Linked DNA regions of Homo sapiens: regions 1, 3, 4, 5 and 6 are each linked to region 2. Evidence: promoter capture Hi-C in 16 types of primary human blood cells and fetal thymus (Javierre and others, 2016). All regions are on one chromosome and are shown on one strand. The core of a region is centred on a gene start or on the middle of the fragment in contact, and the rest is flanking DNA. Distances in the headings are between cores, read along the strand shown. Region 1 overlaps ACBD6 (acyl-CoA binding domain containing 6). Region 2 holds the start of LHX4 (LIM homeobox 4). Region 3 overlaps ACBD6 (acyl-CoA binding domain containing 6). Region 4 overlaps ACBD6 (acyl-CoA binding domain containing 6). Region 5 overlaps ACBD6 (acyl-CoA binding domain containing 6). Region 6 overlaps ACBD6 (acyl-CoA binding domain containing 6).

What was found. The method cuts DNA at HindIII sites, captures the fragments that hold promoters and counts their contacts. A CHiCAGO score of 5 or more calls a contact.
Region 1: a fragment that was not itself captured here is called in contact with the fragment with the promoter of LHX4 in region 2 in 4 of 17 cell types (neutrophils, M0 macrophages, monocytes and 1 more); the score reaches 7.0 in neutrophils.
Region 3: a contact is called between a fragment that was not itself captured here and the fragment with the promoter of LHX4 in region 2, in 4 of 17 cell types (M1 macrophages, M2 macrophages, M0 macrophages and 1 more). The highest score is 6.7, in M1 macrophages.
Region 4: a contact is called between a fragment that was not itself captured here and the fragment with the promoter of LHX4 in region 2, in 2 of 17 cell types (neutrophils and M2 macrophages). The highest score is 6.7, in neutrophils.
Region 5: a contact is called between a fragment that was not itself captured here and the fragment with the promoter of LHX4 in region 2, in 1 of 17 cell types (neutrophils). The highest score is 5.3, in neutrophils.
Region 6: a fragment that was not itself captured here is called in contact with the fragment with the promoter of LHX4 in region 2 in 8 of 17 cell types (endothelial precursors, M0 macrophages, M2 macrophages and 5 more); the score reaches 8.4 in endothelial precursors.

What each region holds. Positions count from the first base shown.
Region 1 is chr1:180,432,539-180,437,448 of GRCh38, forward strand. All of the region lies in intron 3 of ACBD6 (acyl-CoA binding domain containing 6), which reads right to left. It also overlaps the pseudogene VDAC1P4. Among named protein-coding and RNA genes, the nearest start is that of MIR3121, 3.4 kb to the right of the region's middle. The HindIII fragment of the contact is 1,147 bases long and covers 919-2,065 here.
Region 2 is chr1:180,227,514-180,231,834 of GRCh38, forward strand. It overlaps LHX4 (LIM homeobox 4), which reads left to right and starts at 2,751. Exons shown (of 6, transcript NM_033343.4): 1 at 2,751-3,092. The coding sequence starts at 3,017. RefSeq lists a silencer at 2,192-2,321. The HindIII fragment of the contact is 8,200 bases long and covers 1-4,321 here.
Region 3 is chr1:180,447,876-180,452,461 of GRCh38, forward strand. All of the region lies in intron 3 of ACBD6 (acyl-CoA binding domain containing 6), which reads right to left. Among named protein-coding and RNA genes, the nearest start is that of MIR3121, 12 kb to the left of the region's middle. The HindIII fragment of the contact is 171 bases long and covers 3,037-3,207 here.
Region 4 is chr1:180,400,513-180,405,121 of GRCh38, forward strand. All of the region lies in intron 5 of ACBD6 (acyl-CoA binding domain containing 6), which reads right to left. Among named protein-coding and RNA genes, the nearest start is that of MIR3121, 36 kb to the right of the region's middle. The HindIII fragment of the contact is 7,851 bases long and covers 1-4,609 here.
Region 5 is chr1:180,363,077-180,367,551 of GRCh38, forward strand. The region is part of intron 6 of ACBD6 (acyl-CoA binding domain containing 6); the gene reads right to left. Among named protein-coding and RNA genes, the nearest start is that of MIR3121, 73 kb to the right of the region's middle. The HindIII fragment of the contact is 2,097 bases long and covers 373-2,469 here.
Region 6 is chr1:180,474,871-180,479,345 of GRCh38, forward strand. The region is part of intron 3 of ACBD6 (acyl-CoA binding domain containing 6); the gene reads right to left. Among named protein-coding and RNA genes, the nearest start is that of ACBD6, 25 kb to the right of the region's middle. The HindIII fragment of the contact is 1,459 bases long and covers 1,479-2,937 here.

The DNA of each region.
Region 1 (4,910 bases), core at 242-2,741, 200 kb after region 2:
AACAAAAATGAGAAACCACTACACACCTATTGGAATGGCTAAAATCCAATATGTCCTTAAATAGATTAATAAGCAAATGATACACCCATAAAATAGGATATTATTCAGCAACACAAAGAAATGAGCTATTCTAGGTTAACTAAGAAAAAAGAAGAGTCAAATAACTCAGAAATGAAAGTGGAGATGTTACAATTAATGCCACAGAAATACAAAGAATCATAAGAGATAACTATGAACAATTACATGCCAAAAAACTGGATAACCTAGAAGAAATGAATAAATTCCTGGAAACATACAATCTACCATGACTGAATCACGAAGAAATCAAAAATCTGACAGACCTATCACCAAGAAAGAGAGTGAATCAGTAATAAAAAAAAAAACTTCCCTACAAAGAAAAGCCCAGAACCAGATCACTTCACTGGAGAATTCTATCAAATATTTAAAGAAGAATTAACACCAATCCTCTTCATACATCAAAATAATTAAAGAAAAGGGAACACTTCTAACTCATTTTATGAGGTCTTATCCTCACATCAAAGCCAAAACTACTGCAAGAAAACTAAAACCAATATCCCTGATGAATATTAATCCAAAAAATCAACTAAATATTAATAAACTGAATTTAACATTACGTTAAAAGGATTATACATCATGATCAACTGGGATTTATTCCTGGAATGTAAAGATGGTTCAACATACAAAAATCAATCATATAACACAGCATATTAATACAATGAAGGACAAAACCCACATGATCATCTCAATTGATACAGAAAAAGCATCTGACAAAATTCAACATGTGTTCATGATAAAAACACTAAATAAACTAGGAATAGAATAAAACTACCTCAACACAATAAAGGCTATATATGAAAAGGCCACAGCTAACAACATACTCAGTGGTGGAAAACTGAAAGCTTTCTTTCTAAGATCAGGAACAAGGCAAGGATATCCATTCTCATCACTTCTTTTCAAGATGGTATCCAAGCCACAGCGATCAGACAAGAAATAAAAGGCATTTGTGGTGTTATGCTGTGTGTGTGTGTGTGTGTGTGTGTGTGTGTGTGTGTGTGTGTGTACAGAGAGAGAGCGAGAGTGAGAGAGTGCGCACAAAAGAGATTTGTTTTTGTCCATGGTTCCTGGTTTCTAACTCCTATTGCCCTTGTTACAGTCTTTCGTTACATAATTAGGTGTGTCAGGCCTCAGGAGCAAGCCTCAGGAAAGAGAATCTATGGGACTTTCTCCTGCCCTCCTTTTACCTGCCCCAGGTTACCCTTTCTGATTGTGGGTCACAATCCCGAGAGAGAGTCCTGCCCTATACCCTAGGGGAAGGAATACTGACATCATGAAACCCAAGAGGAATGGGTGCTGGGAGCCTGGGGATAGTGGAACACATGGAGGTTCCTGGAGGGTGGCATGCCCAGAGAGATCATGAAAGCGCCATGTCCCTTCCTCCATGCCTCACCCTACACATCTCCTTGTAAACCAAAAATAAAGTTCTAAGCCCTACAACCATCTGGATGAACCCCTCCTCTCAGCTAAGGTTTCTCCAAAGAAACCTGAAAAACTAGTTCAGGCCATGATGGGAAGTCGGGGTCTGGACATGCCTCATTATACTTTCCTCCCTTTAGCATTCAGGAACAACTGACCAGCATTAACATTAAAACAGAGATCTCACAACTGACAAAAAAGACTCTTTGTATCAATAAGATATCAAATTCCAACCTGACTCTAGTATAGCATCACATGACAGAGAGCAGACCCTGGAAGAAATCAAAATATCTTATCCCAAAATATATTTGACATATTTTGAAATGGCCCTGCAAAGCCATCTCTTAAAAGGGAAATTTTACATTATGTAAAGAATCCTGTTCCCTTTCCAGGTCTTTTTCTGATCCTAAAGAGATTAGCTGAGAGATCTGAAGAATCTTTTAAAGATCTGAATAGGAAACAATTGTCATCTATTGCATCTAACAGTGGCCACCTATGAGACTTCATCTATATAGTAAGAACCTTGGTCTCCACAAATCCTTAACTCAGATATTCCTTTCTATTAATTCCAAGCTTTTAGATAATAACTTAACTCTCAACCAACTGCCAATCAGAAAATCTTTGAATCTACCTATGATAAGTCACTGCTTCGAGTTGTCCTGTCTTTCCAAACCAAACCAATGTATTAATAAACTAGGAATAGAGTAAAACTACCTCAACAGGCCATAGCCGCAACCGAGCCTGCTGCCAATGCCTCTAAGCCGAAGGTGGCTGTGCCACCCACGAATGCCAATCTTGGCAAATCTGCCAGGGATGTCTTCACCAAGGGTTATGGATTTGGCTTGATTTGAAAACAAAATCTGAGAATGAATTGGAATTTACAAGCTCAGGCTCAGCCAACATTGAGACCACCAAAGTCATGGGCAGTCTGTAAACCAAGTACAGATGGACTGAGTACGGCCTGACGTTTACAGAGAAATGGAACACCGACAATACACTAGGCACCGAGATTACCGTGGAAGGTCAGCTTGCACATGATCTGAAGCTTACCTTCAATTCATCCTTCTCACCTAACACTGGGGAAAAAAAAGCTAAAATCAAGACAGGGTACAAGCAGAAGCACATTAACCTGGGCTGCGACACGGATTTCAACATCGCTGGCCTTTCCATCTGGGGTACTCTGGTGCTGGGTTACGAGGGCTGGCTGGCCGGCTACCAGATGCATTTTTTTTTTGAGACGGAGTCTTGCTCTGTCGCCCAGGTTGGAGTGCAGTGGCAGGATCTCAGCTCACTGCAAGCTCCGTCTCCTGGTTTCACGCCATTCTCCTGCCTCAGCCTCCCAAGTAACTGGGACTACAGGCGCCCGCCACCACGCCTGGCTAATTTTTTTTTTTTTTTTTTTAGTAGAGACGGGGTTTCACCGTTAGCCAGGATGGTCTCAATCTCCTGACCTCGTGATCCGCCCGCCTTGGCCTCCCAAAGTGCTGGGATTACAGGCATGAGCGACCATGCCCAGCCTGGATGAATTTTGAGACTGCAAAGTCCCGAGTAACCCAGAGCAACTTTGCAGTTGGCTACAAGACTTATGAATTCCAGCTTCACACTAATATGAATGACGGGACAGAGTTTGGCAGCTCCATTTACCAGAAGGTGAACAAGAAGTTAGAGACCGCTGTCAATCTCGCCTGGACAGCAGGAAACAGTAACACGCACTTCAGAATAGCAGCCAAGTATCAGATTGACTCTGACAGCTGCTTCTCGGCTAAAGTGAATAACTCCAGCCTGATGGGTTTAGGATACACTCAGACCCTAAAACCAGGTATCAAATTGACACTGTCAGCTCTTCTGGATGGCAAGAACGTCAATGGTGGTGGCCACAAGCTTGGTTTAGGCCTGGAATTTCAAGCATAAATGAATACTGTACAATTGTTTAATTTTAAACTATTTTGCAGCATAGCTACCTTCAGAATTTACTGTATCGTTTAATGTTGTACGTCTGGAATGCAAGTATTGCTAAATATGTTAGACCTCCAGGTTAAAGATGATTCAGCTTTAAGATGTTACCCTTTCAGAGGTACAGAAGAAAACCATTTCCAAAAAAGGTCCTTTCAGTGGTAGACTTGGGGGTAACTTGGTGGCCCCTTTGAGATATCAGGTTTCTTTTTTATCTAGAAATGGCTGCAAGTGGAAGCTGATAATATGTAGGCACTTTGTAAATTCATATTGAGTAAATGAAAGAAATTGTGATTTCCTGAGAATTGAACCTTGTTTATCTAACCCTAATTGATGAGAAGCTCACTACTTGATGGTGTGTACAAACTCACCTGAATGGGATTTTTTTTAGACATATCTTCATGACCTGTTCCCACCCCAGTTCATCGTCACCTCTTTTACACCAAAACGTCTGCAGAGTGGTGTGGTCACGATTCTTTTGTGCCATTTTGGGGTGGAGAGGGTGGACGTGATAAAGCCAATAATTCAGGACTTATTCCTTCTTGCGTTGTGTTTTTTTGCCCTTGCACCAGAGTATGAAATAGCTTCCAGGAGCTCCACCTATAAGCTTAGAAGTGTCTGTATGATTGTAATCACATGGTGACAACACTCAGAATCTAAATTGGACTTCTGTTGTATTCTCACCACTCAATTTGTTTTTTAGCAGTTTAATGGGTACATTTTAGAGTCTTCCATTTTGTGTGGAATTAGATCCTCCCCTTCAAATGCTGTAATTAACATCACTTTAAAAAAACCTGAATAAAATATTGAAACCTCAAAAAACAAAAACAAAAACAAAACTACCTCAAAATAATAAAGGCCATATATGAAAAGGCCACAGTTAACAACATACTCAGTGGTGAAAAACTGAAAGCTTTCCTTCTAAGATCAGGAACAAGGCAAGGATATCTATTCTCATCACTTCTATTCAAGATGGTATCCAGGCCAATGTTAATGCTATCATATCTCCTTAAAGGATATAAAATCAAGCTATAACCCCATCAGCTTGGGTACATGTTCTCAAGACCTTCTGAGGCTGTGTCATGGGTCATGGTCTTCACATTTGGTGCAGAATAAATCTCTTCAAATACTTTGCAGTTTGGCTTTTTTCCCTCGACATCTTCATCTGTATCCTTTGTAACATCCTTTATAATAAACTGGCAAATGTGTTTCCCTGAGTTCTGTAAGCCACTCCAGAACTCAGTTGAACCCAAAGAGGGGGTCATGGGAACCACAACTTGAAGCCAGTTGGTAAGAAATTCTGGAGACCGGGGCTTGTGACTGGTCAAGGGGTGGGAGGCAGTCCTGGGGACTGAGTCCTCAACCTGTGGAATCTGACACTATCTCTAGGCACCTAGTGTCAGAACTGATTAGGAGGATACCCAGTTGGTGTCTGCTGCAGAACTGCTCACATAATGTTGGGG
Region 2 (4,321 bases), core at 1,501-4,000:
TTACTCCTCCTAAACAATTTTTTATTGAGGTAAAATATACATATAATTTACCATCTTTACCATTTTTAAGTGTACAGTGTTTATGCTTTTTTTAAGAAAAGTTCCTGAAGTTCATACCGCTTCATATTCTTTTTTCACATTTCCTAATAAATCTCAAACCCTTTTCTACATTAAATATTCTTCTGTTGTATTATTTCTAAGACTTCATAACATTCCATTTTACTTAATAATTTACTGTAACTTATTTACTATCCCCTATTGTTGGATATTTAGGTTTTCCCTTTTAAAAACCTTATAAACATCCTTGTAACTACATCTTCACAAACATTCTTGATTATTTTCTTTGGATAAATTTCTATAGAGATTGGGTCAAATGCATCACATTTGTAGCCAAAACGTCCTGAGAAGACATTTCCCCTCTTTGCAATCCCCACTAGGAAATTGTTTTCTAATTTCCCCACAGCCTAACCAACAATGGGTATTATCATTGCCCTTACATTTGACTAAGATTTTTACATATTTATAATCCTATGCTATTGCATTGTGCTTTTAAAAAAAATAGTATTTCACAAGCATCCCCATGTTATTGGGTTTCATAATTGGTTTCCATGATTCCATAACATACTACCAAACAATTTAATCTACTTCCCTAAGCCACTTTTCTTTTGTTGGCTATTTAGGTTATTTTTCTCCAAAACATAATACTGTAATAAACATTTTCACGCATGAAACTTTTATAAAAAATTCTAGATTATTTCCGTGGAACAGACATTCAAAAGTACTACATAAACTAAAGGGTATGAAAAATTTATGAGTTTGATACATATTGCCAAATTTCTTTCCAAACGGATGTTAAGAGTTTATAAGCACCCAGCAGTATTGGTGAGTGTCCAAGCCCCTTTCGCCAGTCCTGAACTCTAGGATGCCCCTCCCGCGCGTCGGGCATCTCACAAACAGAAAAAGCTGTGCACGTGTTGTTTTGTCTTGCGTGTTTTTCACTGCAAATGAGGCTGGCGTTTCCCCGTGTTTGCTTACTAGTTATATTTCTATAGAACACATTTTGGTAAACACTAAAAATGTCACTGGGTTCTTTTGCTTTTTTCTTCTTGTGTATATTGTCTCGCGCGCGGAGTCACCTCGCAGGTAAACAAGGGAAGAGATGATGCCAACCCAGTACCAGGACACACAAAAGTCACTGTGACCTCATTGGAGACAAATTCTAAGCAGCGCAGACGACCAGGCCATTCTCCCCCGCCCCATGCTCCTCCCTTAAAGGTGAGCAGGTGTCCCTTGTTTGGAGATGACACCAGGGGAAACAGCAGGGAAGGTTCTGGAAGGCTGGGGAGGGCACACAGTCCCCCTTCCCGCCTAAGCTGAACCCCACTAGGCTGGAAGGACACGTATGTCTGCATTTCTGGAAGGAAATGCCGTGGGGGCTGGGGGCAGGAGAGCGGCTGGGTCTTGGGGCAGACGGGGTGGGCTTCCCGCGCCTGCAGCCCGGAGGCGTCGAGCGCCTGATGGAGCGTCAGAGGAGACCTCGTCCCAGCGTTGGGCCTTCTGTTGTATTTCTGCCAGAAACTCGCGTTGAGGAGAATTTGTTTTAAGCGTTTCTCTACCTGTCCATGCATCTCGTAAATACAGTAAGCATGGCAAGCCCTTTCGCTGGTTAACCCCGGCGTCCGTGTGCTCACTGCCGCCCTGCACGCACGAGGTCGCGGATGGTTCAAAGCACCCGCGGTGGCAGCCGGAGAGGCAGAGCGGGCTCTAGGGACCTAAGACAGGGCCGAGCTGGACGACTGGTGGCAGGGCGGCCGGGGAGGCCCCGCCGCGGGGAGGTTTGGGCCCCCTACCCTGCGGAACTGGAGGCAAGTGCGGACTCCGGCTGCAGGCCGCGGTCTGCGGGGACGCGCGCGGGGGGCCTGCGTCCCGCCACCTCCGCGCACAGCCCCTGGTCCCCTTCCCCAGCCCGGGCCGGCGCCGCCCGCCGCGTGACTCGCGCGTTCCGGGCCGAGTACGGGCTGTCCCTTGGCCCAGCCTCAGCCAGACGCGGGGGAGAGAGAGCAGGGGCTGGGAAGTGCCGGCAGGAAAGGAATTGGCCAGGGGAAAGAGGAGGAGGAAGATAGATGGAGTCATCGGTTACGGAGCGCGCTCCGTCCGGCGGAGCGAAGCCGGGGACCGAGAGCGCGCAAGGCGAAGACACAGCGACGCAGCCCCGTCCCCGGCCTCCGGACCGCCTGCCCCGCTCGGCCCCGGCTCGGCTCCGCCCCGCCCCTGGGTCCGAACGGAGGAGTGAGGAGGACACGAGCCGCGCGGGCTTGGAACCCACGAAGACCCGCAAACCCAGGGCGCCGCCGTCTCCGACCACCTGCTGCCGCGGCAGGCCATCAGCAGAATTTATACCCAGGGCGCGAGCCCGCCACGGCTGGGCGGAGGCGGAGGCGGAGGCGGGGAGGGGGGGGGGGTGCCGGCTTGCGAGGCCCCGCCCCGCTCCCTGCCGCCCCGCCCCCCTCCGCCCCGCCGGCCTCACTCGGGGCGCCGGGACCCCCACTCCCTCCGGGGTCGGCTGCCCGCCGCCGGGTTGGGGGATGTGCCGAAGGGCGGGCCTCCCTGCGGAAAGCGACGTCACGGCCGCTCCTGCAGTGTGAATGAATCAAAACGCCCGGGTGACCGCGGCCTCCCGGGCGGCCGGCACGCGAAGGGTGGAGGGGGAGGGGGAAGGAGCGGGCGGGGGAGGGAAGAGGAAAAAAGCCAGAGCTGCAGCAACAGCGTCTCAACCTGGGATGTGCACCAACCCCGGAGAGCGAGATCAAAGGGACTGGAAACAGACTGGGGACTGGCGGGGGGAGGGGGCCGGCCAGCCTGTGGAGTCCTCCCTGAGAAGCGGAGGGCCCGGCTTCCACCGTGACTCCAGCGGCCTGCTTGGGGTTTTAATTATTATTTTGAAATTTCTGAATCGAGCTAGAGCGAGAGAGCGAGAGATCTCCGTAGACTGCGACTCGCTGGCTTTCGCTCCGAGATGATGCAGAGTGCGACTGTCCCCGCGGAAGGGGCTGTCAAGGGGCTCCCGGAGATGCTAGGTGTGCCGATGCAACGTAAGACACCCCCCTTTCTCGCTGATTTAATTCTAACAAGACAGCTAGCAGCCTCAGCCGCTGCGGGGCGGGCCGGACGCCGCTCAGGGGCCGGGAGGGGCTGGCGGCCGGGGCGCAGAGGCGGTCACAGGGCAGGGGCACCAGCCAGAGTGCGTTTGAGGGGGCCAGGCTCTTGGCTGTTTGGGGCCGAATGTGAACGCCTCCTGGATCATGCTTGAGGCGAGCCGAGTACCGAACCCCGCATCTCCAGCCCAAGGCTTTTCTTGGAACGCTGGGGAGAGTGCTGTTTGGGGACACCCAGGGGTACGAGCTGTAGGCCAGGCCTGAGGGCGAGGGTGGTCCCCACAAATCTTCTTTCGCCGGCGTGACGGTCAGCGCTTGCAGGACCGCTAGTGCAACTTCACCCCAGCTGGCGGGAAGTTGGAGAGCGCGTCTCTCGCCCCTGGGGCTGGCGGCGGAGAAGCCCCGGCCACACTCTTAGTCCCTGCGGCCCGCGCCCCGGGCGTGCGTGCCGGGTGAGTCCCCAGCCGCTACTGCCCGCGGCGCCCGCCGCGTGCGCCGCGGGAAACTGACTGCTCCTTGTGAGGGAATCTGCTCGCGCATTCCAGCTAGCCTAGGAATGCAGGGGAGGGAGAAGCGACCGCAAGTTGTGAATTCCGGGTTCAGCCTTTGCGCACGCGAGGGCAGGTGCTCAGGGTGGCTCGGGTTTGGAGGGGTAGAGACGGGGGTGTGTGGGAGCTTTGCTAGCCTGCCCGCCCGCTTTCTTCCCGCGCCCGAAATTAGCGAGACAGCCGGAGCTCGCGGCGTGTTTATCCCCAAGTCTCTCTCTGTGTGTATGGGTGTGCGCGCGCAGAGATTTTCCCGAAGGGAATCCGTCTCTGTGCTTCACTCCTGAGCGAGAGTCCCCGAGAGGGAATCTGTGCAGAGGCCAGAACAGGTGCCCAGTCGTCGCGCGCGCGCGCGCGCGCGCGCGACAAGCGCCGGGAGAGTCCTGCCCCTGTGGCTTGCACGCTCAGCAGGGCGCCCCGGGCACCCTGGAGAGACCAAGGAGTTCCTCGCTCCGCTTGCCAAGGGGTTGTACTTCCGCCTGCGACTTCTTTAGTGGTGCGGTAGCTACATCTTCGGGGTTTACTTTAAGTAAGGGCCGGCTCATCCAGGGATGGTGACTACCTACAAACTAGGGCGCACGAGCGCGCCCTCCTGCGCCTCGGGTTTCCATGGCAGGGTTT
Region 3 (4,586 bases), core at 1,872-4,371, 220 kb after region 2:
ATGTATCCAAATGATCTCATGTGTACAAAAAAAAAAATCATTAAGACCCAATGGATAAACAGACCATGATTATAAGTAGGCAACAGTTAGATACTTGAAGTTACCCACGGGTTTAGGGTTCTACTCACATACACCAATACTTGGGAAAATGCTTAACATCCCTTAATAATTTGCAAAATGCAAATTAAAGCAACAATGAACAATGAATTTTTAACTAGCTACATTAGAATAAATAAGGCAGTAAAATTACAGTGAAACAGGTACTAATAAGCTAATGGCCCTAATGGCCTTGTAAAATGGTATTAGTCTTTTGGAAAGTATATGGCAATCCTACCAAGACCCATACAAATATTAAGCACATATTAATTATTTTCACCAATAATATAACTTCTGGATATTATAAGAAAAAGATACAATCCTTAACTATTGCAACTTGGTATGAGATTCAACAACAATCTTTTTTGTTGGTCATCTTTACCTAAATTTAATGTTCTTAAATTTTTAAGACAGAAACATAGGTCAGGATAGATTTTTAGATCTCTATCTCCCTTTTCTATTGTTTTCATGAAGTGGTAAAAATTTTGGCCCCTAGGATACTTAGCTCTTGCCCCCTCTGGTTCTTCTTTTTCCTTTTGTCTTTATTGTCCTTGTTGTCCTACTTGATTTTGATTAAATTCCTAGTAGATTGCTCTTAGTATGAAGCTTTATACTGGAAGAAAGTTTTGGCTAGTTAATTTTAGAAGCTTAGAGCCCAGGCAGCTCTAGAGAACGTTACCATGAACCTCTTGTACTCAGCCATGAATTGAAGTGCATAAAAACCCCTTTTAGCTTTACCTGTTGGCTATTTTAGAAATCTGCCATTCTCAAGATAGTAAGGTACTCATAGGTACTCTACTGCTTCCTTCTGCTTCCTTCTAAAGAGATGCCAATGCCACACAAATCTGTTTTCTTTCATTTTTTTTAAAATATAAATCTGGTAGCTGTTGGTGGTTTGTCCCTATTTTCTCTAATCAACTAATTTTGTTACAGATATTGCTCAAGAGCTTTTGATTATGCTATCCTAGTTATTCTGTTAAGGAAGGAGGACTATTCAAAAACTATGCTACAGCCACTACCATCTTCCCAGAATTAAAATACCATAAATAATTTTTAATGTAACACATGAATAGGAATACACAAATAAATAGATTAGTATTGCTAAAGTTGGTATGTTTCCATTCCATTCTCTTTTCCATTATTTTTGTCTCCATGCAACTATCTTAGTTGCATGATTTCATGAAAGAGAGATTTAGAGACTGACAACACAAGTTCAGTGAACATCAGTTATTTGTAGCTTACCAAAGTATGAATACTATTTCAACATTTTAATAGTTTCCGAAATTGTGAATCCCAACTTCTAAAGCAGAATTCTCAAAATCTTATTTCTTAGACTTTCTTGAAGCTATGATTCATTATCTACATTCCATAAACTAAATGTGCAAGCAACCCATATGGATACAAAACGGAGCAACATATCACTGACCTACAACTCGCACTTTTTTTTTTTTTTTTTGAGACAGAGTCTCACTCTGTCACCCAGGCTGGAGTTCAGTGGTGTGATCTCAGCTCACTGTAACCTCCACCACAGGTTCAAGTGATTCTCCTGCCTCAGCCTCCTGAGTAGCTGGGATTACAGGTGCCCGCCACCACACCCGGCTAGTTTTTGTATTTTCAGTAGCGACAAGGTTTCACCATGTTGGCCAGGCTGGTCTTGAACTCCTGACCTCAAGTGATCTGCCCTCCTCGGCCTCCCAAACCAAACACCGCATGTTCTCACTCATAGGTGGGAATTGAACAATGATAACACTTGGACACAGGGTGGGGAACATCACACACCGGGGCCTGTTGTAGGGTGGGGACAGGGGGAGGGATAGCATTAAGAGAAACACCTAATGCAAATGACAAGTTAATGGGTACAGCAAACCAACATGACACATGTTCACCTATGTAACAAACCTGCACATTGTGCACATGTACCCTAGAACTTAAATTAAAAAAAAAAAAACTTAAAAAAAAAAGCATGCTAATCTAATTTCCGGATGACAGGGTCAATGAAAGACAGTTGACACACTAGATGTCACATTCAGGACCCCCCCACCCCAAAAATCTTCAATGTGGGAATAAGATGTTGAATAAAATAAAATGAAATTTAATACGGGTACACATAAAGTATTGAACTTAGTACACAACAGACATTGCATAACAGAATGTATAAAAAAAGACAGGATTTTAGTTTACTGAAAGTTAAAGAATAATTAACATTGTAATGTGGTTGCAAGAAGTGTTAAGGTAATTTTAAGCCACAATCAGTGCAAGTATAGTGTTCTAAAGAGAGAAAAGTTCTATTCTGTAGTGGTCACACTATGCCTAAAACAGTCTGTTCAATTCCAAAGGCCATACTCTAAAAGAGGTGTTGAGAAACTGAAATTTGTTCACACAAGAATGACTGGGAAGGTAGTGGGACTTGATGGTGAAGAAGATGAAGAACAATTTTAGAAATCAGAAATATTTGGTCTGGAGATGAGGAGACTTAAAAGCTGCCTTAAAACTTCTGAAAGACTCGGCCGGGTGCAGTGGCCCATGCCTGTAATCCCAGCACTTTGGGAGGCCCAGGCAGGTGGATCACGAGGTCAGGAGATCGAGACCATCCTGGCTAACACAGTGAAACTCCGTCTCTACTAAAAAATACAAAAAAATTAGCCAGGCGTGGTGGCAGGCGCCTGTAGTCCCAGCTATTCGGGAGGCTGAGGCAGAAGAATGGCGTGAAACCAGGAGGTGGAACTTGCAGTGAGCCGAGATTGCGCCACTGCACTCCAGCCTGGGCGACAGTGAGACTCTGTCAAAAAAACAAAACAAACAAACAAAAAAAAACTTCTGAAAGACTCATATAAAAAACTGAACATCGTCTATGTGGGCCTAAAAAGCAAAAATATAACAGAGTAGAAAACAATAACGATACCAAAACAGTGAAATAAATTTTGGCTTAATATAAAAAGAAGCTTCTAACAACTGGAGTTCTTCAAAAATTGGGCCAATTTCTTCACAAATAGTAAATTTCCCTTCATTAAGAGTCTTCCAATAGAAGCTAAAAGACTGTATGCTAGAATAATCTGGAGACAGAAAATTAGTCTAAATAACCAATAAATTCATTCTAATAATGAGATTACAAGCTTACAACAAGAAAGGGAAATGTAACTTAAAAAAGATATACAAATGGCCAATGTGTACATTAAAAGGTGGTCAATATCATCAGTCATCAGGGAAATGCAAATTGAAATCACAACAAGATACCATTTCAGACCCACTAGGATGGCTACAATCAAAAAGGCAGAAAATAAATCAGAACCCTCATACACTGTTGACAGGACTATAAAATGTTGTAGCCATTTTAGAAGACAGTCCAATGGTTCTTCAAAGTTAAACACAGAATTACCATTCGATCCAGCAATTCCACTCCTGGATATATATCCATTAGAAATAAAGATATATGTACACACAAAAACTTGCACACAAATGTTCACAGCAACATTATTCAAAATAGCCAAAAGGTGGAAAGAACCCAAATGTCCAAAAAAAGATGAATGGATAAACAAAATGTGGCATATCCATACAATAGAATACTACTCATCCATAAAAAGGAATGAAGTATTGATACATGCTACAATGTGAAAGAACACCCTGAAAACATACTAATAAAAAAAGTCAGTCATAAAAGACTACATGTGATATTCCCCATTTGAAACCAGAATAGGCAAATCTATAGAAACAAAAACTAGATTAATGGTTGCTTAGGGCTGAGGGAAATGAGGAGACTGAAACTAAGAGCTAAAGGGTATGGAGTTTCTTTTTGAGGGGATGAAAATGTTCTAAGATGAATTGTAATGATGGTTGTACAACTTCATGAATATGCTAAAAACCACTGAATTGTACACTTAAATGGGAGAACACAGTGGGTGAATTTTAATGTCTCAATTTAAAAAGCAGAGAAAAATGAAAAAATGTGTTCAGTAAACTACATTTAAAAAAACTAGGAAAGACTATACTTTCAGGGGTCATTTCTATCTGAACAACCTGCTCCTGAATGACTAATGGGTAAATAATGAAATTAAGGCAGAAATAAACAAGTTCTTTGAAAACAGTGAGAACAAAGACACAACGTACCAAAATCTCTGGGACACAGCTAAAGCAGTGTTTAGAGGGAAATTTATAGCACTAAATGCCCACAGGAGAAAGCGGGTAAGATCTAAAATCGACACCCTAACATCACAATTAAAACAACTATGTGGGTGGCTCAGACCTGTAATCCCAGCACTTTGGGAGGCTGACGTGGGCAGATCACGAGGTCAAGAGATTGAGACCAGCCTGGCCAATATAGTGAAACCTCATCTCTACTAAAAATACAAAAATTACCTGGGCATGGTGGCACGTGCCAGTAGTCCCAGCTACTCGGGAGGCTGAGGCAGGAGAATCACTTGAAACCTAGGAGGCGAAGGTTGTGGTGAGCCGAGATCATGCCACTGTACTCCAGCCTGGGCAACAGAGTGAGA
Region 4 (4,609 bases), core at 1,299-3,798, 170 kb after region 2:
CTCAAAAACAAGAGTAGGATTAAACATACTTGTAAATAAACACAGACAAAACAAATCAGGCTTTGGAATTTTAACCTTCAAGATGCTCTATATTTAAATGAACAAAAACCAGCAAAATGAGGTGTCTGTGATACCTTTTACTTCTTCAAATTATAAAATTCCTATAAACATGCTCTAATTTAAGATTATTATTCACTCACTAACATAACCAGTAATTTGCAGAGATGCTATCCTTATAATTAATCATGATAAAATCAGGAAATAAACACCTGTGGTTTCTTTCCTTTCTCTTTGTTAACCACAAACACACCTAGACCACTACAATTATTAAACTATTTTAGGTAAAGAATTCCAAAATCTCTCCTCCAGAAGGAAAACCATGACTTAGGTGTGCATTAAAGCTATATCTTCTAAGACTTTATCTAAATTTATGAACTATTTTACATATTTGTCTATATAATTGTTTTATCTTTTTCCATGAGTGATATAATCTCTTATAAATTTTCAAGTTAAATTTATTTTTATTGCTACCAAAATAAGTGACAATTCTTTGTTTCTAATTTTTAAAACTCTTCTGGAAAAATATCCCAGAAGTATTCAGGAGATTGGTGAGGGAGAGCCATTATTAAAAGGAACCTTTGTTAGGCCACCAGAAGACCACGAACACTGGAGAGCCCTGAATAAATTCTGAAACTCAAATACAGTAAGATGCAGGGAGAAAAAGAGTTCTCATCTATTAACCAAGGGTGCTAACACTGTCCTACCTCAGACAGATGAATGACTCTAAAGTGCTTTGAAAGTGCAGGGTAGCAGCTAACCTATTAAGTGGTATTACTTTCATACCTTCTGGAAAATACAGAGAGCACATCTTAATATATGAAATGCTTCTCTGATTTCCTTAGTAACTCGTCCATAAACCATGTAGAATTTTTTTTTAATTAGACTTTTCTCCTCAATATCACAAAATTAAAAAAAAGAGAAGAGATTCTGGCCAGGCGCGGTGGCTTACATCTGTAATCCCAGCACTTTGGGAGTCCGAGGAGGGAAGATCACCTGAGGTGAGGAGTTCGCAACAAGCCTGGCCAACATGGTGAAATGCTGTCTCTACTAGAAATACAAAAAATTAGTGGGGTGTGGTGGTGCGCGTGCCTGTAATCCCAGCTACTTGGGAGGGTGAAGGCAGGAGAATCGCCTGAACCTGGGAGGTGGAGGTTGCAGTGAGATGAGATCGTGCCACTGTACTCCAGCATGGGCAACAGAGCAAAATTCTGTCCAGAAAAAAAAAAAAAAAATGGTAAGGGGAGGGGAGAGGAGGGAAGGAAGGAGATTCTATTATAAAATGAGTCTTGATGTTCTTATGATATTTTGAGATCAAATACAAAGTACATATACCATACGTATAACAGATAAAAACATGGCAAATTTGGTATATTTAAATTTGTAAGAGTTGTCCTGTCATTCTATCAAACACATATAGTATATGGTATGGTACTGTCTAATTAGCAAATGAAATACTGCAAACAGGTAGATCTGAATTTCTCTCTGCAAAAAAATTGGGTATCAATTTATAATTGTAGTAGAGCTTGACTTCAACTACCAACAACCTGTAATGTCCCCATCTCCTCTGTACTATCTTCTACCTTTTGCTGCTACTACTGTAGCAGCTGGCCATAGTGAGAACTCCCCTACCTGCAATCACCAGAAATTACACAATGCCTCCTTCTTTCACTTCCCTGTCCATAGTGAAATGACAATGTTATTTCAAGCACTTAGGAATAAGATTGAAAGATAGTCTAACATCTCAAGATTATACCTAGCATGGAAGCCAATGACTGCTTGTGGGATAATTTACTTACGAGCATTATAAAGAAAATCACACACCAGTATGTGTGATACACACTTAAAATCAGCAACTACTGGATCTTGATCTCTTTCACTGGCAAAGATCTAGGGTAGGGGAAAATGGTGTTGCTTATTTGTCAGGAAATTGAGAAAGATTTTGAATACACTACTTTAAAAAATCTGGCTGGGTGCGGTGGCTCATGCCCATAGTCCCAGTATTTTGGAAGGCCAAAGCGGGCAAGTATGAGACCAGCCTGGGGAACATGGTGAAACCCCATCTCTACAAAAATTAGCTGGACATGGTGGCACACTTCTGTAGTCCCAGCTACTCAGGAGGCTCGGCTCAACAGGAGAATCACTTAAGCCCATGAAGTCATGGCTGCAGTGAGCCGTGATCGACGTCACTGTACTCCAGCCTACGCAACACAGTGACACTCTGTCTCAAAAGAAAAAAAAAAAAATCCCTTCACAAGAAATTACTAAGCTATAATGTCAGTGACTTAAGGGTGAAGGAATATGAAAGGGAGGTATTATTTCATCCTGTATAAAGGAGGTAATTAACAGCAATAATAATAGGAAGTTGCCATGAAAACAGCCCAGGTATCCATCATAAGACAATGGTATATTCACATGATGGAACATATTCAGCAGTATAAAAGAAGGAAGTACTGAACTATAGCAATATGGATGAGTCTCAAAAACATTATGCTGAATGAAAGATGCCCTACACAGAGGAGTACATATGTATAATCCCATATATATAAAGTTCGAGAACAAGCAGAACTTATCTATGGTAGAATAATATCAAAACGGTGGTTACCTTTTTGGGATTAAAAGAAAACAGTGGCTGGGAAGGGGCATGAGGAAACTTTCTGGGGCGACAGCAATGTTCTATATCTTGATAGGCACTTCAGTTACACAGGTATATGTATTTGTCAAAGTTCATCAAATGTGTACTTAAGACTTGTGCATTTCATTGTATATAAATATTATTTTAAAAGAAAAACCAAATACTGAATTCTAGTTAGTTATACGCATGTTAAAATATTTAGAAGAAAGTGTACTGTTGTCTGTGTACTCCAAAATGTATCAAAAAATAAAAAAGATTTGATGAATGTCTAGATATTGATAAAGCAAGCATAGTAAAATATTAATGGTAGAATCGAGATGGTAGAAATACGGATGTTCATTGTAAAATTCAACTTCTCTGTATGTTTAACATTTTTCATAATAGATTCTTGGGGAAAAAAAATCAAACAAAAATTTGTACACCTATGTTCAGAGCATAATTCACAACAGTCAAAAGGTAAGAGCAAACCAAGGTGTCCATCAATGGATATCTGAATAAACAAAATGTGGTATATGCATACAATGGAATATTATTCATCTTACAAAGCAAGGAAACTGACACATGCTACAACATGAACGAACCTTGAAGACGTTACACTGAGTGAAATAAGCCAGTCAAAAGGGACAAATATTGTTATGACTCCACTTAAATGAAGTACCTGGAGTAGTCAAATTCAGAGACAGAAAATAGAATGGTAGTTGCCAGGGGCCAGGGGAAGGGAGGAATGGGGGGTGTTTAATGGGTACAGAGTTTCTTTTTTTTTTGAGACAAAGTCTCACTCTGTCACCCAGGCTGGAGTGCAGTGGTGCGATCTCAGCTCACTGCAACCTCCACCTCCTGGGTTCAAGAGATTCTCCTGCCTCAGTCTCCCGAGTAGCTGGGATTACAGAAGTGCAGCACCACGCCTGACTAATTTTTGTATTTTCAGTAGAAACGGGGTTTCACCATGTTGGCCAAGCTGGTCTCAAACTCCTGACCTCAGGTGATCTGCCCACCTCAGCCTCCCAAAGTGCTGAGATTAAGGCATCAGCTACCACACCTGGCTTGGTACAGAGTTTCAATTGGGGAAGATAAAAAAGTTGTATGGTGGTGGTGGTTACACATGTGAATGTATTGTTTTATTTATTCATTTTTTATCACGAGACGGGATCTCACTATGTTGCTCAGCCTAGTCTTAAACTCCTGCGCTCAAGAATTCCTTGTGCCTGAAAGCATGAGCCACTACACTTGGCTCATGTGAAAAAAATATATATATACATATGTGTATTTTTGAGACAGAGTCTCACTTTGTCGCCCAGGCTGGAGTCCAGTGGCACGATCTCAGCTCATTGCAACCTCTGCCTCCTGGGTTCAAGTGATTCTCTTGCCTCAGCCTCCCAAGCAGCTGGGACTACAGGCATGTGCCACCATGCTCAGCTAATTTTTGTATTTTTAGTAGAGATGGGGTTTCACTATGTTGGCCAGGCTGGTTTTGAACTCCTGACCTCAGGTGATCCACCTGCCTTGGCCTCCCAAAGTGCTAGGATGACAAGCGTGAGCCACAGCACCTGGCCTCATGTGAGCATATTTAATGACAGAGAACTGTAGATTTAAAAATGATTAAAATGATACATTTTATGTATATTTTACCACAATTAAAAAATACCCAAAATAAGTTGCCAAAGCTCATAGGATTTAAGCTACTTTCACTATTTTCTGATTTTGTATTAAATCTAAGTTTCTGATGCAACACATGACCATAGACTTGATTTTTAAATGGCACTGCCTACATGAATGCAAATAAGCGTAATAGACAATTTGTAACGCATTTCTCAGTCATTAGTGTGAATAAAGTTCCTTCAAATTAACATCTTAATCAACTATATAACCAAAATAATATATACCCTGATATAGAAAGTGATTTAAGAGGATGCATTT
Region 5 (4,475 bases), core at 171-2,670, 130 kb after region 2:
ACATGTAGGTCCTTTTTCTCTGGTGTTCATAACTTTCCTCATATTCTTCCTAAAATGGTTAAAGACCACTGTTGTGAGATAGCAGTACAGATTAAACAGGATTGGCCACAAATTGGTAATTGCTGAAACTAGATATTCTCTTTATTTTTGTACCTCGTTGAAGTTTTTGTAATTAAAAGGTTATTTTTAAAACGATTGTGAGGAAAGAATTCATTATGTACAAAATAAATTTTGATAGAGGACTGTGGAATTATCTAAGTGAACTAATGTGAATAATAATTCTATTTTTCCTTATGAGCTAAGTGAAAATGAAATAAAAGTTTTGTAATTTACAAGTGTAGAAAACAAAAGTATGGAAATTTTTCATGTCAAAGCTTTCAGTGAGGCAAGTTAGTTTACTTTTGAGTTCCTTATTTTGTTTTACGAAATGTTAAAAGTTGATGAAAAAGCAGGAAAAAAGGAGAGAAAATGTAACGGGCAAAGCAAAGACTGCAAAGACAGTGGTGGTTTGGTCCTTGGGAGGGAGGACTGAAAGGAATGAAGTGATGGGTCTAATCAAATCACTTAAAAAAGCAGCAGCTTCTCAGAGTTAACCTTGCCAATCAGAGTAAGCAGGAGCAGGAGCAGGAGCAGGAGCAGGAGCGGGAGCATGCTTGTGCACATTAAACTTCACATGTGTCCTTGAACCTATGGTGCACTTCCTCCTCCCACAGCAGCCAGGGAAGGCTTTGTAATGCTCATCCTTAGAGAGAACCTTGAATTCCATTAGAAAGCTCCACAAAATGGAGAAACCCTCAAGTGGCAGCTTGAACCACATAGACAGCTCATACCCTTTACTGATATTAGAAGTAAGCTCATGGGATTAAGTCGGCAAGTACTAGAAAATTAAAAAGTATGAACACACTGACAAATGCCATGATACCAACAAGAATACAAGATGTGTCTAAGCCTTTTTTCCTGCTTTTTCTTTACCTTTTTAAAAAAAGGGATGGCAAATATTTAAAACAATGCTACAATAAAGACTGGGCACTAAGTCTACAAAGAAACTCTATAACTTGTCTGGCTAATATTGGGCTAATATAATATCTACATCTATACAGTGATTTGCTATAAAACCATTCACTTATTGATGGCCTAGCACATTTTACAAATAAGCTACACTTTAAGAGGAACAGTAAAGGCAGACACCTTGCCTTTGATGTCACATCTATTAAGTTACAGCTCTACTCTGTTCCCTACCAGTGATAAGACATCTTATATAATGTACATTTTTAGTGTTACATGTTTAAAAAGGGACATTGATTCAGTAATGAGCCACTAGGTTGGTGAAACTAGTCTGGAGAAGACTTAGGAAGAAAATGTCTACTGTCTTCAAATAACAGAACGGTTGACACCTGGAAGGGAGGAGATACAACTTTTCTTCATAGTTTTAAGAGTCAGAACTAAAACGAGAGTGAGTTATAGGTAAGCAGACATAGATTTAACAGGTAGGAGAAATTTCTAATAATTAGCACTTTCTGAAACAGAATAGGCTATTTTGTGAAGTAAACAGAAATCTTCAGACAGGCTAGCTGGCTTAACCATCTTTTGGAAATTTAGTGGAGAGGAGTCCTGCATTAGGTGGGAGTTGAACCAGATGATCTTTAAATTCCTTTCTATCTTTTTTTTTTTTTTTGAGATGGAGTCTTGCTCTGTCGCCCTGGCTGGAGTACAGTAGCGCGATCTTGGCTCACTGCAACCTCTGCCTCCTGGGTTCAAGTGATTCTCCTGCCTCAGCCTCCCGAGTAGCTGGGACTATAGGCGTGTGCCACAACGCCTGGCTAATTTTCTGTAGTTTTAATAGAGACAGGGTTTCGCCGTGTTAGCTAGGATGGTCTCAATCTTCTGACCTCGTGATCCGCCCACCTTGGCCTCCCAAAGTGCTGGGATTACGGGCATGAGCCACCGCGCCTGGCCAATTCCTACTTTTAAGATTTTACAATTATTATTTATTCAAGGTCATAGTTAGTGGCAGAATAGAAATTGGAATTCAGGTAACGTGACTCCAAACACAGTCTTTCCAAACACAAGGTTATAAACTCCTCAAAAGTCTTCAGGCAAAAATATAAAAGACTGAGGTCAACTGGGTCAGGGAAACTGAAGAGTTCAAAGCCTGTCAACAGAGGGCAGTAGGTACTCAGCTCTAGTTGATAGAAGAACGTGCCCACGATTGCCATATTTGCAGATTTTTCAAGAGAAGTCTAAAATCTGTACTTTTATATGAAATTAACTGACAGTTAATTATAAATAAATTGTGGACTAACACTACAGGTGTCAAACAAAAACAGATCTATGGGCTGCACATGACTTATACTGTTTTGTGACCATGAGACTTTACTCAAAAACTCCATTTCCAAACTACTGATTTTAAAAAATCCTTCTCTGGAGTCTTCAAATTTATCAACATCCTTTTTGAAATACAAAAATCTAAGCTTTATGTTTTATATTAATTACATCCTAATAATTGCTATGTATATAACAGTACTTTGCCCTGGCCTTTATAGATTATATTCCTATTACTGTAATGGCAGCAGTAAATTTGCTTTGTAAGAGCAACACTACATTGCCATCTCATTGTTTACCTACGGTCCACAATAGCCGTCAAATTTTCTACTGATGATATTTGTGCATAAACAATCTCTATACATGTATACATGCATATGGTCCATAAGTATATTTAAATATGCTCCATATTCTATAATTATTTCACGGAAAAATTACTTTTCTTTGAAGAGTCTTTTTTTTCTTATCTTTTTCCCATCTTTCAGGCATTAATCACTCTGAGTATATCAGTTTGATCAAAAGCAATATTGACCATTTCTAGAACTTACTCTGTTTACTTAGTATAACTAAGCAAATTGCTTGGTCTCATTTGCAAGCATTTTGTTATTCTGTGTAATTCCTTCATCATTAATTGGTTCTTATAATGTTACATTTAAAAGAACATTTAAAATTTAGCAACACTAGGCATAGCCAAATATATTTTATAACATGCACATACTTATTTAAATAGTACATCTCAGAAACCATCAATGAGCCACCAGTTCAACATTCAAACAAGTTAGTTCTTTTAAGGCAGATGATTAACTAATTTCCTGAATTCAATGAGGAAGAATTGCCTGACATTTTAAAAATTGAAAGAATTACAGAATTAATTCAATTCTGAGGGTACCATCAACTTTAGACTACAAAATGTTATGATTCAGTTGTAGGTAGCTTAGACATTTAGAAACCTTTATGGTGAAGACGGTAGGTTTTCCTGGGGATAAAAACTAATTCTTTTGTTTTCAAGCTTACAATAGTGCAAAATGTCAACAATTTCTGGTTAATAGCAGTACCAAGAGAGAATGTAGCCAGGGGACCATTAAGAAGGAGCAATTTACTATAGCAGGTCATAACACTTTGACAGTGTCCTATAATTCAGTTAGATGTAAAAATAAGATGACACTGGGTGTTCTCTGAACTCAGAGTAATTTGAACTTGATTCACACTGTACTGTGAGCCAGCTGTTCATTCTCAGATATAAACTTAGCAAAGGAAGTGACTATTCAATATAAAAATGACAGAGAAATAACTGATTAAACAAAATTGTGAATAGGAATATGGGTTAAAAGTTACACTGAAAGGAAAAGCCTGATGAATAAAATGTCATCTACATATATGAATTTCATTATATATAATATAGAAGATATGAGGAACTTATTACTATATCCTCATAAAATGCATCCGATAGCTATGAATTCTAGAAGCACTGAGTCAGTATGATAAACTATGACGGCAACACAATGCAGGAAAAAAAGGGTGGAATCTGCAGTGAAAATACCAGGGGGCTGTGAACCCTGGTTATACCACTTACTAGCTTTGTGTCCTCAAGCAATTCACATAACCTCTCTGAGCTTTAGTTTCCTCAACTGTAAAATGAAGATAATGCTACACAGATTCCTGTAAGGATAAAATGAGCTAATACAGAAAAACATACTTTGCAGAATAGAAACGTGATTAAAATGTTCGATCTGTAAATACTGGTTTAATAATCTTTGTTCACAATTTTCAGACTTCCTTTGCATTGGCATTTGTCTTTTTGTTAGCCCAGAAACTCTGCCTATGTTTTTGCAGATGTAGAGATTTCTTTGCATAAGGGAATGAATAAATTTGTTTCATTAGTCAACAAATACTTACAAAATGACTCCAAGTTCCAGGACTTAAATAATACTAAAGTATTGGTACAGCAGTCCCCTTCTATCCGAGGGGGATACATTTCTTTCCTTTTTAAAAAAACTTTTATTTTAGATTTGGGGGTACATGTGAAGGTTTGTTACACAGTTAACTCGTGTCATAGGGGTTTGTTGTACAAATTATTTCATCAGGTATTAAGCCCAGTACTCAACAGTTATCTTTTCTTCTCCTCTCCCTCCTCCCACCCTTCACCCTCCACC
Region 6 (4,475 bases), core at 958-3,457, 250 kb after region 2:
GTGTTGTCTCCCTATAATTTACTGTCCAACTGGGACATTTTCTACATGTCCCTTTCAGGGATTCTTTCAGGCTTTTTGTGGAGAGGAAAGGAGTTGAAGTTAACATGTATATAGAAAAATGTACATATTTTAAGTGGGTTTTCACAAACTGAATAAATATGAAATCAACACCCAGATTTAAAAATCCATTAAGCCAGCATCCAGATCAAGAAATAGAATATTACCAGCATTCAAACTGAGATAGTTTTGACAGTGAAAGGTGGTGTTATTTTAACAGCCTAAATGAAATATAATTGACATATAATAACTGTGCATATTTAAATTGTACAGTTTGATGAGTTTTGACGTATATTGGTGAAACCACTGCCACAGTCGAGATGATGAACATATATATCCACCATCTCGGAAAGTTTCCTTGTGTCCCTTTTGTAATCCCTGCTGTTTATTCCTACTTTGTATCCCCGGGCAACCACTGATCTGGTTTCTGTCACTGTAGTTTGCATTTTCTAGAATTTTATTTATTTATTTATTTTTGACATGGGGTCCCACTCTGTGGCCCAGGCTGGAGTGCCATGGCATGATCAGAGTTCACTATAGCCTCAACCTCCTGGGCTCAAGCGATCCTCCCATCTCAACCTCCTGAGTAACTGGGACCACAGGTGTAAACCACCACACTCAGCTAATTTTTTATTTTTGTAGAGATGAGGTCTTGCTGTATTGCCCAGGCTGGTCTTGAACTCTTATGCTCAAGCAGTCCTCCCATCCTGGCCTCCCGAAGTGCTGGGATTACAGGCATGAGCCACCATGTTATGTATACCAATAGTTTGGTCCTATTTAGTATTCCATTCTGTAGATACACCATAATTTGTTTAGCCTTCTCCTGTTGATGGAAATTTTGGTTTCCAGTTTGGGGTTATTATAAATAAAGCGACTATGAACATTCATGTAAAAAAATAAAGTAAAATGACCTAGTGTTTACCATATGATGGAAAATGCTATAACACCTAGAAAGAGTTGGTGGGGCACTTTTCATTTTCCCTTTTACTTAAATCAACAACATGGATTATTAAGAGTTTCACTAAATTTGTTATTGAATATATTAAAATTCAACCTAAGGAAAAACGGGACAACTGGAAGATAACATTTATCATGTCTAGGCACTCAGGTATATATTATGGCTAGGGGAAAATAGCAAAACAAACAACTATCACATACCAAAATCTGAATCTGGTTCCAATGCAACCCAATCCCACCAATACCAATGAAAAGACTAGAAGTTTATCCCCAGGTAAAATCATTTGAGATCTCTGATGCAAAACTATGGTGTTATTTAAAGATGGAATGTGAAGCCAAAAAGCATTCACACGTTCTGTTTAAGTTATATTATTAACTCATTTATGCCGGAGGTTGAAAATTTTTTTTGTGAAAATCAGACCTTGGCAATGACCTTGAGCAGTAGGATGTAAATAACTCCCACAAGCTTTGCATTCCAATAATGGAACACTAGGCATAAATGGGTTAAATTTTTTTTTTTTAAAAAAAGAATGAAGTTGTCACTCAAAGGTTTTTGCCTATGCACACATATAGGCTAATACAATGCTTCTTTTCCTCAACTGACAAGTATCACAAAAGAAAATTTAAAAGTACAATTGGCAAATAAAACAAGAAAACTCAGCCGGGCACAGTGGCTCACGCCTATAATCCCAGCACTTTGGAAGGCCAAGGCAGGCGGATCACCTGAGGTCGGGAGTTTGAGACCAGCCTGGTCAACATGGTGAAACCCCGTCTCTACGAAAAATACAAAAATGAGCCGGGCGTGGTGGCGGGCACCTGTAATCCCAGCTACTCGGGAGGCTGAGGCAGGAGAATTGCTTGAACCCGGGAGACAGAGGTTGCAGTGAGCTGAGATCATGCCATTGCGCTCAGCCTGGGCAACAGAGTGAGACTCTGTCTCAAAAAAAGCACAAAAAACAAAAACAAACAAAAAAAACAAGAAAACTCAAAAACAACACAAGTACATGGATGGAAGAAATGTGAAAATATCCAATGAATATATCAGATTATATATCTATTAACCAGTTCCCCTCTGAAGCTAACCAAAACATTACACAATATAATGCTTTGTATAACATTATACCCCCTTATCCATGGGGTATGTATTCTAAGACCCCTAGTAGATGCCTGAAACTGTAGACACTACAGAGCCCTATATACACTATGTTTTTTCCTATACAGGAACAGGTAATGGATACATCTTGACAAAGGGATGTATGGAGTGGGACAGGAGAGATTTTATCACAACAGGGCATGCAATTTAAAACTTATCAATTGGTTACTTCTGGAATTTTCCACTTAATATTTTTGGACCACCGTTGACCTCAGGTGACTGAAACCCCTCAGAAAGCAAAACTATAGATCAGGGAGGACTGCTATACATTTTTAAACCACAAACAGGGACCACTAACAAACACATACACACATATAAGAGCATACACACAAGCATTAAGAATCCTACAGTTCCTAAATATTGCATAACTCTTTATAAAGTCAGTAGGATAGACCATTAAATGTTTTTAATAACACACCATGCTTTTCTGTACTGAAAATTACCTCTATATGGAGGTTAATAAATTTGGCCCAAAATATAATCAATCTCTGTTCCTAGTAACAAAACATGTCATAATAGAGTTTATCATTAGAACGAATTTTTTTTTCAGTAGAAAAAATAATCTCCTTATAATTTAAAAAACAGATAAAATGCAGTTCTAGTTCTTAATTCCCAACTAATACACACAGGTTACTTTTTTACTAAAATAAGTCAGAAATGTTTTATTAAAATCAGGAAAGAAACTATTTCTAGATTATTTCTTTTAGCTATAGCTTTAACATCATAATTCAATTAATCTACTAAAATGTGTAACTGTTGTATCTGCAAAAAGCTTATTCTGCTCTAATGCACAAATAAGAAGTCTTAAAAAAGTCTTCTGCAAGCTGGGCAAGGCAGTGTGCACCTGTAGTCCCAGCTACTTGGAAGGATGAGGCAGGAGGATAACTTGAGCCCAGGAGTTCAGGTCTAGCCTAGGCAACATAGTGAGACTCCATCTCTTTAAAAAAAAAAAATTCTTTTGCAAAAGAAAATTTTAGTTGCACAGGATACTAATTTTCTCTAAATTTTCTAATAAATTTAGATCACCATATGATGCTTATTTTTCTTAACTTACATGGATTGAATAAGAAAACAAAGTCATTTTTAATTCTAATCTATTATCCCAAAAGTACATCATTTTGGGATGTAAAGATAATAAGATTATCTTTATTGAAATTATTATAATTTTACATTAAAATGTATTTTTATTTATTAAGTACAGCTAAAAAATAATTTCTAATCTTATAGTTTTTATTGTGTGTCTATTAGAGAAATACACAAAATAAGCATAATTGAAGTGTATTTAGTTTCACAGAAAAATCAGTAACTTTAAACTGTGAAACACTGCCCTCTATAGTCCACTGAATTAAACAACAATTCAATTTATAATACTTAGAACAATACAACCTAGACAAGGAATTTTGGACTTTCTGCCTCGTTCCTGAAGCAAAATTTTCCCGCTCTATAAATCTCTCTTTTTTTTTTTTTTTGAGACGGAGTCATGCTGTGTCGCCCAGGCTGGAGTGCAATGGCACAATCTCGGCTCACTGCAACCTCTGCCTCCCAGGTTCAAGCAATTCTCCTGCCTCAGCCTCCCAAGTAGCTGGGATTACAGTACCACCATTGCTGGCTAATTTTTGTATTTTTAGTAGAGACGGGGTTTCACCATGTTGGTCAGGCTGGTCTCAAACTCCTGACCTCAGATGATCTGCCCACCTTGGCCTCCCAAAGTGCTGGGATTACAGGCATGAGTCACCACACCCAGCCTATAAATCCCTTTTTTAAAAAGAAGTTTATACTAGAGAAATGCCTATTTCAGATATCCATTTGGCTGGGCACAGTGGTTCACACCTGTAACACCAGCACTTTGAGAGGCCAAGGCAGGAGGATCACTTGAGCCCAGGTGTTCAAGACCAGCCCAGGCAACATGCAAGACCCCATCTCTACCAAAGAAAAAGAAAAAGAAAATTCGCTGGTGTGATGGCACACACCTGTAGTCCCAGCTACTCAGGACGCCAAGGTGGGAAGATCACTTGAGCCCAGGAGTTTGAGGCTGCAATGAGCTAGGATTGCACCACTGCACTCCAGCCTGGGCAACACAGCAAGACCTTGTCTCTAAAAACAAACAAAATATTCATCAATCTCATTTAAAGCCTCTTCTCTAAAGAAATCAATACTTGCATGCTTATTGCAGCACTATTCACAATGGCAAAGATAAAAAGTCAACCTAAATGTCTATCACGGATGAATGAATAAATAAAATGTGGTATATATACACAATGAAATATTACGCAGCTATAAAAAAGAATGAAATGTTATTTGCAGCAAC